2 separate regions of the Homo sapiens genome follow, and region 2 is linked to region 1. Evidence: promoter capture Hi-C in 16 types of primary human blood cells and fetal thymus (Javierre and others, 2016). All regions are on one chromosome and are shown on one strand. The core of a region is centred on a gene start or on the middle of the fragment in contact, and the rest is flanking DNA. Distances in the headings are between cores, read along the strand shown.

Region 1 (6,087 bases), core at 1,809-4,308:
ATTCATCATCAGAAGATATGAACAAAAAAAAAATGTTAAAGAAAACCCAGAGACTCACAGTGAGACACACTATAATCAAACTCTCAAAAGTCAAAGACAAAGAGACAATCTTGAAAGCAGCAAAAGAAAGTAACTTGTCATGTAAAAGGAAGCCTTTATAAAATTATCAGTGGATTTATCAACAGAAACCTTGCAGGCCAGAAGGCAGGGGGATAATATATTCAAAGAGCTGAAAGAAAAGAAAATTTCAACCAAAAATATTATATCCAGCAAAACCATCCTTCAAACATAAAGGAAAAATCAGCCTTTCCAGGATGAACAAAAACTGGGGAGTTCATTACCACTGGACCTGCTGTAGTATCTTGCAAGTTGAAACAAAAGGATGCTAAATAGTAACATGAAGTCTTATGAAAATATAAAGCTCTCCAGTAAAGATAAATATATGGACATATATAGAGACTGTACTATGCAGTTTTGGTACATAAATGCACTTTTAATTCTTGTATAGAATTTACAAGACAAAAGCTTAAAAATAACTATAAAACTGTGTTAATGAATACATTACATATGAAGATGTAACTTGTGACATAAGTAACCTAAGGTGAGGGTAGGAGCTTTGAAGAAATAGTTTTTGTACACAGTCGAAGTTATTCTCTTAACAGTTTAAAATAGCTTGTTAACACTTTAAGATGTTTTTTATAATTCTTATGGTAACCATAAAAAAATCTATAGAATACACACAAAAGGAAACAGGAAGGGAATCAAAATGTCACCACAAAAAAAAATCGACAAAACCCAAAAGAGGTCAGTAAGAGAAGGAATAAAAAACAAAATTTACAAAACATACAGGAAACAACAAAATGGCAAGTGTAGGTCCTTCCCTATCAGTAATTACTTTAAATGTAAATGGATTAAACTCCTGAATCAAAAGATATAGACTGGAAAATGGATTTGTAAAAAGGATCCAACTTTATCCTGTCATTTAGGTCTAAGAAACAAATATGCTTAAAATGAAAAAAAGGAAAAGTAAATGCCATGCAAATGGTAAATAAAAGCAAGCAGAAGTGACTATACTACTATCCAACAAAATAGACTTAAAGTCAAAAATAGTCACAAGACAAAAAAATGGATATTATATAACAAAAAGTCAATTCAGCAGAAAGATATAACAATTACAAATATATATACCTCTAATACCAGAGCTCCTAAATATCTGAAGCAAACATTGACAGATCAGAGAGGAAACATAAACAGCATAATAATGGTAGGCGACTTCAATTCCTCACTTACAATAATGGCTAGAACAACAAGACAGAAAATCGATAAGGAAATACAGTACTTGAACAACACTATAAATAGTGCTAACAAACATGTGCAGAACATTCCACCCAATAAAATCAGAATAGTATTTTTCTCAAGTTTACATGGAATATTCCCAAAGATAAATCACATGTTATACCACAAAAAAACTTGTAACAAATTTTAAAAGATTGAAATTATACAAAATATCTATTTTGATGAAAATGACATAAAACTAGACATCAGTAGCAGAAGGAAAACAAAAAATTCACAAATATGTGAAAATTAAACAACACAGTTTTCAACAAGCAATGGGTCAAAAAAGAAATCACAAGGGAAGTTAGAAAATATCTTGAGATAAAGGAAAATAAAAATACAATGTACCAAAATGTGTAAGATGCAGCAGAAGCAGTGCTAACAGAGAATTTTATAGCTATAAATATGTGCATTATAAAAGGAAGAAAGTGGCTAGGCATGGTGGGTCATGCCTGCAATCCCAGCACTTTGACAGGCTGAGGGAGGAGAACTTCTGGAGGCCAGGAATTTGAGACCAGCCTGGGCAACAAAGCAAGACCCCATCTCCACAACTTAAGAAAAAAAAAAAAAGAAGTAGAAGAAAGTTTGCAAATCAACAACCTAACTTTATACCTCAGGAAACTAGGAGAGAAAAAAAACTACACCCAAAGCTAGCAGAAGGAGGAAAATCCTAAAGATTAGATTAAATCAGAGATAAATGAAATATAGAATATAAAAACAATAGAAAAAAATCAACAAAACTAAGAGGTGGTTTTTGAAAACACCAACAAAATTAACAAATGCTTAGCTAGATTAACTAAGGAAAAAAGATTCAACTAATAAATCAGAAATAAAAAAGAGAACATTAGAACCCATGCCATAGAAATCAAAAGGATTATAAGAAAATACCATCAACAGTTAATTATATGTCAACAAATTGGATAATTTAGAAGTGCATAAATTTCTAGAAATATACAACCTAATAAGAGTGAATCATGAAGAAGTAGAAAAAACGAACAGACTTATAACTACGAAGGAGATTAAACTGGTTCAAAAACCTCCAAACAAACAACAGCCCAGAACCGGATGACTACCAAACATTTAAGGAAGAATTAGAACCAATGTTTCTCAAAGTCATTTACAAAAATGAATATAAAAAACACTTCAAAGCTCATTATATGAGGCCAGTATTACCCTGATTTCAAAGTCAAACAAAGACATTACATGAAAAGAAAACTACAGACCAATATTTGTGATGATCAGGTTGGCTTTATTCCTGGAATGCAAGAATGATAGAACATGTGGCAGGGTGTGCTGGCTCATGCCTGTAATCCCAGCACTTTGGGAGGCTGAGACAGGAGAATCCCTTGAACCCAGGAGGCAAATGTTGCAGTGAGCTGAGGTCATGCCACTGCACTCCAGCCAGAATGACAGAATGAGATTTCATCTCAAAAAAAAAGAATAATACAACATGCAAAAATCAATGTAATACACTATAGTAATAGAATAAAGGACAAAACAGCATGATCATTTATATTGATGTAGAAAAAATGTTTAACAAAATTTAACACCTTTTATCACGAAAACACTCAGCAAACTAGGAATAGAAGGAAAATAACATAATAAAGGCCATATATGAAAAATCCACAGGTAAACTTACACTCAATGGTAAAAGATTCAAACTTTTCTTCTGGATTAGGAACAAGACAAGTATACTCTGTCTCTTCGCTTCTATTCAATATAGTATTTGAATTTCCAAGCAGACCAATTAGGAAAAAAAAATTAAGCAAGAAAAGACATCCAAAGAATAAAAGAAAAAAGTAAAATTATCTCTGCTCACAGATGACTTGATCCTATATGCATAAAATCCTAGACTCCTGCATAAAATCTAGAAAACTGTTAGATGCATATATGCATAAAATCCAGAAAACTGTTGGAACTATTAAACAAATTCTGGAAAGTTGCAGGATCCAAAATCGACACACAAAAATCAGTTGCCTTTCTATAAATTAACTATAAACAATCCAAAGGTAATTAAGAAAATAATTTAATTACAATACCATCAAAAATAGTAAAATACTTAGGAATAAACTTAGCCAGGGAAATAAAAGGCTTGTACACTGAAAACTACAAAACAGTACTGAAAGAAGTCACAAATAAATGTAAAGACATTGGTATTCATGGATTGGAAGATTTAATGTTAAGATCTCCAAAATATCAGATGTATTCCCCAAATCTGTACAACATTATGTATTAATTTGAAAAGTCAATAGAACCCAAAGCAGTCTACAAATTATATGTAATCCCTATCAAAATCTAAGCTGCATTTTTTGAAAAAAGAGAAAAATTTATCTAAATATTCATATATACTCTGACTAGACAATCTTGAAAACTAACTGAGTTGAAGGTCTCATGCTCCGTGATCTCAAAACATGTTACAAGACTACAGTAATTAAAACAGCATGACACTGGCTTAAAGAGAGACATATAGACCAATGGAATAGAATAAAGAACCCATTAAAAGAAAACTCCACATATATGGTCAAATAATATTTACAGCATTCCAGATCCGCTCAATGAGGGAAGAACATTCTCTTCAACAAACAGTGTTGGGAAACTTGGATATCCACACATGAAAGAGTGAAGTTGAAACTTTGTCTTATGCCATATACAAGAATTAACTCAAAATGGATTTAAAACTTAAATGGAAGATCTAAAACTATAAAACTCTTAGAATAAGGGGATATGGCAATTATTTTTTAATATGACACCAAAAGTACAGACAACAAAAGAAAAAATAGACAATTGGGACTACATCAAACTTTTTAAAACTTTTATGCATTAAAGGACATAACAATGTTAAAAAAAACTTGTGGATGGAAGAAAATATTAGTAAATTATATATCTGATAAAGAGTTAATATCCAGAATATATAAATAATTTCTACAACACAATATTTAAAAATAATATGATTTTAAAATGGCAAAAGGATTTGAATAGACATTTCTTTTAAAATTATATATGAATGGGCAAAAAACATAAGAAAAAATGCTCAGCATCCAAACTGGAAAGGAAATCATTAGAGAAATGTAAATCAAAACCACAATGTAATATCTCCTCACAAAAATTGAGTGGTTTACTATTAAGAAAAAGAAATATTAGATAGGATGCAGTTGATAGCAAACAGCTTAAAAGCAACGTGACCCCAGATACTAACTCAAAGCCACACAAAAAACAAAAAGCTCTGGCAAAGACATTTATTTATATTTTTATTTATGTATTTATTGAGGGTTTTGCTGTTTTGTTGTTGTTGTTGTTTACTGTTTTATTTTTGCTTTTTCAACTTTTATTTTAGATTCAGAGGGCACTTGTGCAAGTTTGTAACCTGGGTATATTGTGTGATGTTGAGGTTTGGGGTATGAATGGTCCCATTACCCAGATACTGAGAATAGTACTCAACAGTTTTTCAACACTTTCTCCCTTCCCTCCTTCACCACCCCAATAGTCCCCAGTGTCTATTGTTGCTATCTTTATGTCCATCAGTACCCAGTGTTTACCTCCCCCTTATGAGTGAGAATATGTGGTATTTGATTTTCTGTTTCTGTATTTGTTTGCCTAGGATAAAGTCCTCTAGCCAAATCCATGTTGCTGCAAATGACATGATTTTCTTCATTTTCTTTTATTTTTTATTTTTATTTATTTTTTTTTATTATTATACTTTAAGTTTTAGGGTACATGTGCACAACGTGCAGGTCAGTTACATATGTATACATGTGCCATGTTGGTGTGCTGCACCCATTAACTCGTCATTTAGCATTAGGTATATCTCCTAATGCTATCCCTCCCCCAGCCCCCCACCCCACAACAGTGCCCAGTGTGTGATGTTCCCCTTCCTGTGTCCATGTGTTCTCATTGTTCAATTCCCACCTATGAGTGAGAACATGAGGTGTTTGGTTTTTTGTCCTTGCAATAGTTTGCTGAGAATGATAGTTTCCAGCTTCATCCATGTCCCTACAAAGGACATGAACTCATCATTTTTTATGGCTGCATAGTATTCCATGGTGTATATGTGCCACATTTTCTTAATCCAGTCTATCATTGTTGGAAATTTGGGTTGGTTCCAAGTCTTTGCTCTTGGGAATAGTGCCACAATAAACCTACGTGTGCATGTGTCTTTATAGCAGCATGATTTATAGTCCTTTGGGTATATACCCAGTAATGGGATTGCTGGGTCAAATGGTATTTCTAGTTCTAGATCCTTGAGGAATTGCCACACTGACTTCCACAATGGTTGAACTAGTTTACAGTCCCACCAACAGTGTAAAAGTGTTCCTATTTCTCCACATCCTCTCCAGCACCTGTTGTTTCCTGACTTTTTAATGATCGCCATTCTAACTGGTGTGAGATGGCATCTCACTGTGGTTTTGATTTGCATTTCTCTGATGGCCAGTGATGATGAGCATTTTTTCATGTGTTTTTTGGCTGCATAAATGTCTTCTTTTGAGAAGTGTCTGTTCATATCCTTTGCCTACTTTTTGATGGGGTTGTTTGTTTTTTGCTTGTAAATTTGTTTGAGTTCATTGTAGATTCTGGATATTAGCCCTTTGTCAGATGAGTAGGTGCAAAAATTTTCTCCCATTCTGTGGGTTGCCTGTTCACTCTGATGGTAGTTTCTTTTGCTGTGCAGAAGCTCTTTAGTTTAATTAGATCCCATTTGTCTATTTTGGCTTTTGTTCCCATTGCTTTTGGTGTTTCAGACATGAAGTCCTTGCC
Region 2 (6,016 bases), core at 1,345-3,844, 63 kb after region 1:
CTGGAGTTAATGTGTCGTCCATTTAGGGTGATGGCACCCTCTGCCATTTCTGACGCACCTTCATTTACTTCCATTATTTCATGGATTCCCCACACCTGGGGGAGAAGGACAGGGTACAGGCTACTTCCCCTTTGTAAGTGCTTCCTCCTCCCCATTCTCCTCCACACATCATAAGGTTCTAGAAGCACAGGCCATTGGTGTGCTCACACTGCACAGCACGGGCACCCCGTGTGTGCTTTCCTCCTGCAGGGGACATGATAACGTGGCCATAGCGGGCTCTTCGGACAAAGAGTGAAGGCACTGTTTTGTCCACTATCTCCCTCTCTCGGTCTGTCTTCCCCTACCCTGAGAAGTCATTCAAATGACATTATAATTAAACACCTCAGCCGGAATCCCAGGGGCAAATTTCAGGAGAGATTTGCATGTCACATTTCCATTGGGTTGAGAGGGCTATAAGTCAGGGGTGGGGCGGGGGGTGGTTGGGGGTGGGGGCTACCGCAGGGTGGGGAACCAGCTAAGGCTGAAAGTTTCCTTGAAAAAATCAGCTTTTGAGAAAGTTCCTGTTGATGCAAAGTTACTCAACACTTTCTCTTGCCCAGCCCAGAACTACTTCCTCATTCTCCCAGCTTGGTATCTGTAAAGACAATCATCCTTTTTGGGTAAAGGTAAAAGAGAAACCCTAGAGGAAGTACTTGCTGAGAAGACAAGGTTATCCCATTTTACAGGGAAAAGTGTTAAAATCTGTATTGTTAACAGTAGTAACGATAACAATAACAATAAAGGTATTTCCACACAATTTAATCATTTCCAAGTTATTGGCAGGTCAACACCCCCCTCCTCCAGGGCATAGTTCAGTCAAATAATGGACAGGACTGATTTTTTCCTTGATAAAGTGAGTCACAGGTCCCTTGTTATTCTCATCAGAGTTCCGCATAGTGATTCAGTCAGGACTGGGAATCAAGTCCTTCGCAGGTGGGATTATCCTATAAACGGTTGTGTCTTCCTTGGCTCCTCACTGTCTGCTGGAGAAAGCCGGGATCCTACACAGAATGGCCCTGTTTCCAGAGGCTAACCCAAGTCTAGGCAAATTTAACAAGTTGATTTATTTCTTTAACTCTGTAAATTTAAAGTAATTCAGATCGGATACGATAACTGTAACAGATCTGAAGATTTCTGAGAAATCTTAGTTGGCCCATTTCATTCTGTGCTGGTACTTTTAAGAAAGCTAAGGGCAATAGCGTGGTGTTTAATATATGATACTTGAATATGTTCAACAAGTGTAGAAAAGTGTTATAATGATTCATGCTTCTTAAGTCAGTGAGTATTCTTACATTCATGAAAAATTAATTCTAGAATACCTCCTTCTTGTGAATGGGAATATATTAGTGGAGCATAAATATTTCTTTGGTATGACCCTCAATCCGTCTCTCATCTCCCAGTCTCCCCCTCTGAGCCATCTTTTCCCTACATTCTGCCCCCTCTTCTGCCTCCTCTTCCTTCCCCTGCTCCCAGTTCCCTAAATGCCCCCCGTTTCTGCTCTCTACCCTACAACTCTCCCTTCTTTTTTGCTCTGAATTTTCCTCTACACTCTGTCTTCCAGCCACCTCTCAGAGGCCCCTTCTCTGCTCCCTCAATCTCCGGCTCTCTGTCCCACATTTTCCCCCTTCTCTGCCCCTTGGTCTCCCTATCCACTACCCCAATCCCTCTCTCCGTCCCTTGTTTTCCTCAGCTCTTCCCCATAGCCTCCCCCTCTCTCATCCCGAGTCTCTGTTTTGTCTGGCCCCCAATCTTCCTCTCTGCTCTACAGCTTCCTCCTCCCACAGCCCCTCATTAGTCCCCCTCCAAGATGGGTAGTCTGGGGGTGGGGCACACATCCTTGCTTCCGCAGAGAGATCCGTCTCCCTGTCCCAGCAACAGCAGAGATCTGATGAAAGACAGATGAAAACTTTCCTAAAATGCTGATAGAAAGCTCACATGAAAACTGACCAACTGACTCTTTGCCGAAATATTCAAAAGCTTTAAAACTACATATCCAATAAAAAGTTAAAAGCAACAAGCAAAATCAGCAAAGTGGCCCCTTGTGAAATGAGGCCGGTGAGTTGCAGGTTTCCCTTGTTTCTCTCCAGCATCTGCACCACCACGCCACCCACTTCTGTCCCCAGAAACTGTGTCCAGCCTTCCTCCTCCCACGTGTGAATCCCCCGGGGACCCTGCCCTCCCAGTTCCCCACATCTGAAATGTGCTACCCATGCCCATCCTCCTACTCATCTGCCCTCTGAAATCTGATCAGCCCCTAAAAGCTGCCTGAAATACCCTCTTATGAAGCTTTTCCCTGTCCTTCCATGCCACTCCACATTGCCCCTTTACACTCCATCCAGGGTACAAACCAGGGCTCAAAGCTGGGCCTTCTAGCTTCCGGTTCAGGGCTTTTCTCAAGATGTGGCCTTGGGGAACTGTGGGAGGAACCTGGGCTTGGCCATCACACAGGTGTAGGTTCTGATCTTGAGGCCACCATTGCTCTCTGAGCCTCAGTTTCTATCTGTAAAGCAGGATAATCACTCGCTCGGCCATTCCCAGGCCCAGTGCTTCCTGAGGGCCTGTTGGGGGGTGTCCACTGTTGATAGTGCCCACCATAATTCAGTGTGTCACCTGAGAATTTAATGTGTCACAGCAAATAGACAAATATAGCATCAGCCCAGTGTACTTGGCCCAGAGAGGAGGGAGGAAGGTGGCCATTGTAGTTCCACAAACCTTCCGAAGATATTTTGCAGTTTGACACATGTGACCCTGGTATTTTCCTGGAAGGAGGCCTTTATCTGTCATTCTTCCATTAGTGGCCCCTGGGATGTTAGAACCACAGCCATCAAGCTTTGTCTTTTACTCCCTGAGTTGGGTCAAGGCTGGAGCCCTCTGCCCCTTGTTCACCTCTTATCATATTCAGGCTTGAAGCCAGCACCAGGAAAGTGGCTGGGCTGGCCATAGACCAGCCAGACTGCAGGCCTGGCCCCCTCCTGCTGTGGAAGTCCCTGTCAGATGGCAGATGGAGTCCTTGTAAATCTGCCTAGTGATTTCACCCCAAGTGAAACTCAGGGGCTCTCCACCAGGTGCCTGCAGGTGTAGGTAGGGCAGGGGGCCAGGAGTGTCCCAGTCCCCTGTGACTGCACCACAGGTGTGCTGGAGGGTCACCCCACTGTCCACTCCCTCAGAGAAGCTGCTCAGTCTCTTCGTGTGGGTCGTCACCCCCAGGTAGACATCGGGCCCTCCCTGTGGGACCTGCCCAGTCCTGGAATGCCTCCTCAGCCCATCTCCCTCCCCTCTTAGTCCAAGGTACTGGGAGCCTCCCTCCCATGAGAGTGTCCCTGTTAGCTCCTCCCACCCCACCCCAGCTTTCCTGTCATCTATCCCCTGGGGACACCTTCCTCCCTCTCCAGCCCCTCAGAGCCATAGGAAAGCTACTTCCCCTGCAGCAGCCACACTCAGACCAGGCCCGGGCCTCTGGTGGCCGCCCCTCAGTCCTCACCGCACACAGACTTGCTCTGCCTGCCCCACCAGCATTCAGAATGCCTCCCACTCTCCCTCTGTCCTCACAGCCCTGTCTCCAGCCTTTCAGGAGTTCCTTCTGGGCTTTGAGTGAAGGAGTTTGAGGTCACAGGTTCAGTTTCCTCCTCCCATGTGTGCTCCAGTTACTCGGATTGGCACATGTAGTCACGAAGTGGCCGTGACGCAGGGGCCCATGCTAGCTCACAGGCGGTGTGGGGCCTGGTGCCCTGCAACCCCCTGGATTCAGGAAGGGGCACTGGTGGTTCTGATGCACACAACCGGTGGCCTGTGCCTCTGGAGAAAGGAGGCCACCCAGGATGGTGTCATTTCATTTTCTCAATGGTCCTGCAAGTGAGGGGTATCTCCTTTGGGTAGATGAAGAAACAGCTTCAGAGAATGAAGCAATGTGCCCAGGCCATCCAGCTACTTGCCTGAAGCTGGGATGTGAATTCAGAGCTCCAGACCCCAGGGCCCACCGAGCCTTCTACCCCTCACTGCCCTCTCCCCACTCCTCGGTGGGATCAGGAATCTCTGTCTTGGCTCACAACCTGCAGCTAAGGCCTCTGTAAATCCCTGTGGCATGCAGGGCCTGGCGTGGGGCAGGCCCGACGCGTATCCAGTCCTGGGCCACTCAGCCCCCACTCTGCTCCTCCAGATGGGCCCGAGCCCCTGAGATGCTGAGACTCCTGTCCCATCAGAACCTGCCCACCCTGTCCATGATGGGCGAGGCCTTGTGTGTGGCCCTGCTCTCCTGAGGACAAGCTGTGGCAGGAAGGCTTTCTCAGAGGTGGCAGATGAGGCTGATACTCTCCCTGCAGGAGGGGCATTGTCGTGGGGCCGAGGCTGGTCCACATGTGGCTGGACCCAAGACATGTCATCCCACCACATGGGCCTGGCTCCTCTGTCATCAGAAACTGTTCCTAGGGCCTCTGGCCTAGACTACAGAGCACAGGGAGGAAGCTTCCGCTTTCTGACCACAAGCGTCTGGCCTCAGCGTCAGCCACCCCAAACTGCTCACGGTATTCAGAGCCAGGAGGTTTGTGGAAAACACTCAAGTTCCCATTCCTCTTAGGAAGCCCTCCAGGGGTCCTCCTGGCAGCTTGGAGGCAGGGCATGGAATGGGGATGCCTGCGCTCGCACAAAGGATGATACCCCTCGCCCCTTCCACTTTGCCATCATGCTGAGAACTCTAGGTTCTGCCGCCAGGGATAAAGTTCAAGGGTTGATGAATCTGGCTTAGAAAGTGCCTTGCAGGGGCCAGGCACAGTGGCTCATGCCTGTAATCCCAGCACTTTGGGAGACCGAGGCAGGTGGATCACTTGAGGTCAGGAGTTTGAGACCAGCCTGGCCAACATGGTGAAACCCTGTCTCTACTGAAAATACAAAACTTAACCAGATGTGGTGGCAGGTGCCTGTAGTCCCAGCTACTTGGGAGACTGAGGCAGGAGAATCACTTGAACCCTGGAAGTGGAGGTTGCAGTGAGCCGAGATCGAGCCACTGCACTCCAGCCTGAGCAACACAGTGAGACTCCACCTCAAAATAAAAAAGAACATGCCTTGGAGGGCATCGAGTCCGGGGCTTTCCAAACCTGCTGGTCATCAGAATGCGTGATGCAATGCCTGAGCCTCTCATCCCAACTTCCTGTCTGCCATCCATTGCTGCAGAGACAAAAGCCCTCCAGAAGCTATGGCTGTTGCCTCAGAGCCGCCTGTGTCCTGGAAGCAGGAGCCTGGCAGGGAGGGGGCCAAGCAGCCTTGTCCCAGAGGCCTGGGCAGCTGCGCTGTACACAGCCTGGGGTGGTGCCTTCTAGCTGCAAGGCTAGCCTCACCCTGCCACCAGTAATGCCACAGGTGCAGCAGAGCTGCTTGGTCTCACTGTTCTCTGGGCATCACCATGCAGCTGTGAACTGCAAATGTCCCAGGACGACTCGAATCCATGCAAGCTCCCTGTATCTAAGCCTCACCATTTTCACTCACTTATTATCCCCACTGAAAACTGGAAAGAGAGGAAGTGGCTATGATGGAAAGACCTGGGGTGTGACTCCAGCTCTGCTGGCAAGTGGCAGAGGTGGGAGTCACTGAGCCTCGCTGTCTTCATCTGTGGAAGGGGTGGTAACTCCCCTGCACTCCCAGAGTCATTGTGGGGATCCACTGTCAGCAAGCCCATCTCCAGTTGTAAAGGTCTCCCACAAGGCTATCCCATGTGGGGGCAGCTGCGGACCCTCACTGGGCACAGCCTCGCAGGTGCAGGCATGAGCCTGGGCATCTCCCCATCCTCCAGCCTGAGCTAAGTGCAGTCAGCAGGCGTTGCCCTCTGAGCAGCACAGCACCATCCTGGCTCACTGGATTCTCTCTCCTCAAGGGCAGGGCCCAGGATTTGTCCATTTCTTTCACCTGCCTGGGTCGTAGCACTGAGCCTTGTCAGGGGCAGGCCTTCAGTGAATGTCTTGGGTAAATGAATTCAGGAGTTCATTTA

What was found. The method cuts DNA at HindIII sites, captures the fragments that hold promoters and counts their contacts. A CHiCAGO score of 5 or more calls a contact.
Region 2: a contact is called between a fragment that was not itself captured here and the fragment with the promoter of OR13A1 in region 1, in 1 of 17 cell types (total B cells). The highest score is 6.1, in total B cells.

Annotation. Positions count from the first base shown.
Region 1 is chr10:45,312,550-45,318,636 of GRCh38, forward strand. OR13A1 (olfactory receptor family 13 subfamily A member 1) reads right to left here and starts at 3,059. Exons shown (of 4, transcript NM_001004297.3): 1 at 2,975-3,059. The HindIII fragment of the contact is 10,818 bases long and covers 524-6,087 here.
Region 2 is chr10:45,375,865-45,381,880 of GRCh38, forward strand. The region is part of intron 1 of ALOX5 (arachidonate 5-lipoxygenase); the gene reads left to right. Among named protein-coding and RNA genes, the nearest start is that of ALOX5, 4.7 kb to the left of the region's middle. The HindIII fragment of the contact is 543 bases long and covers 2,324-2,866 here.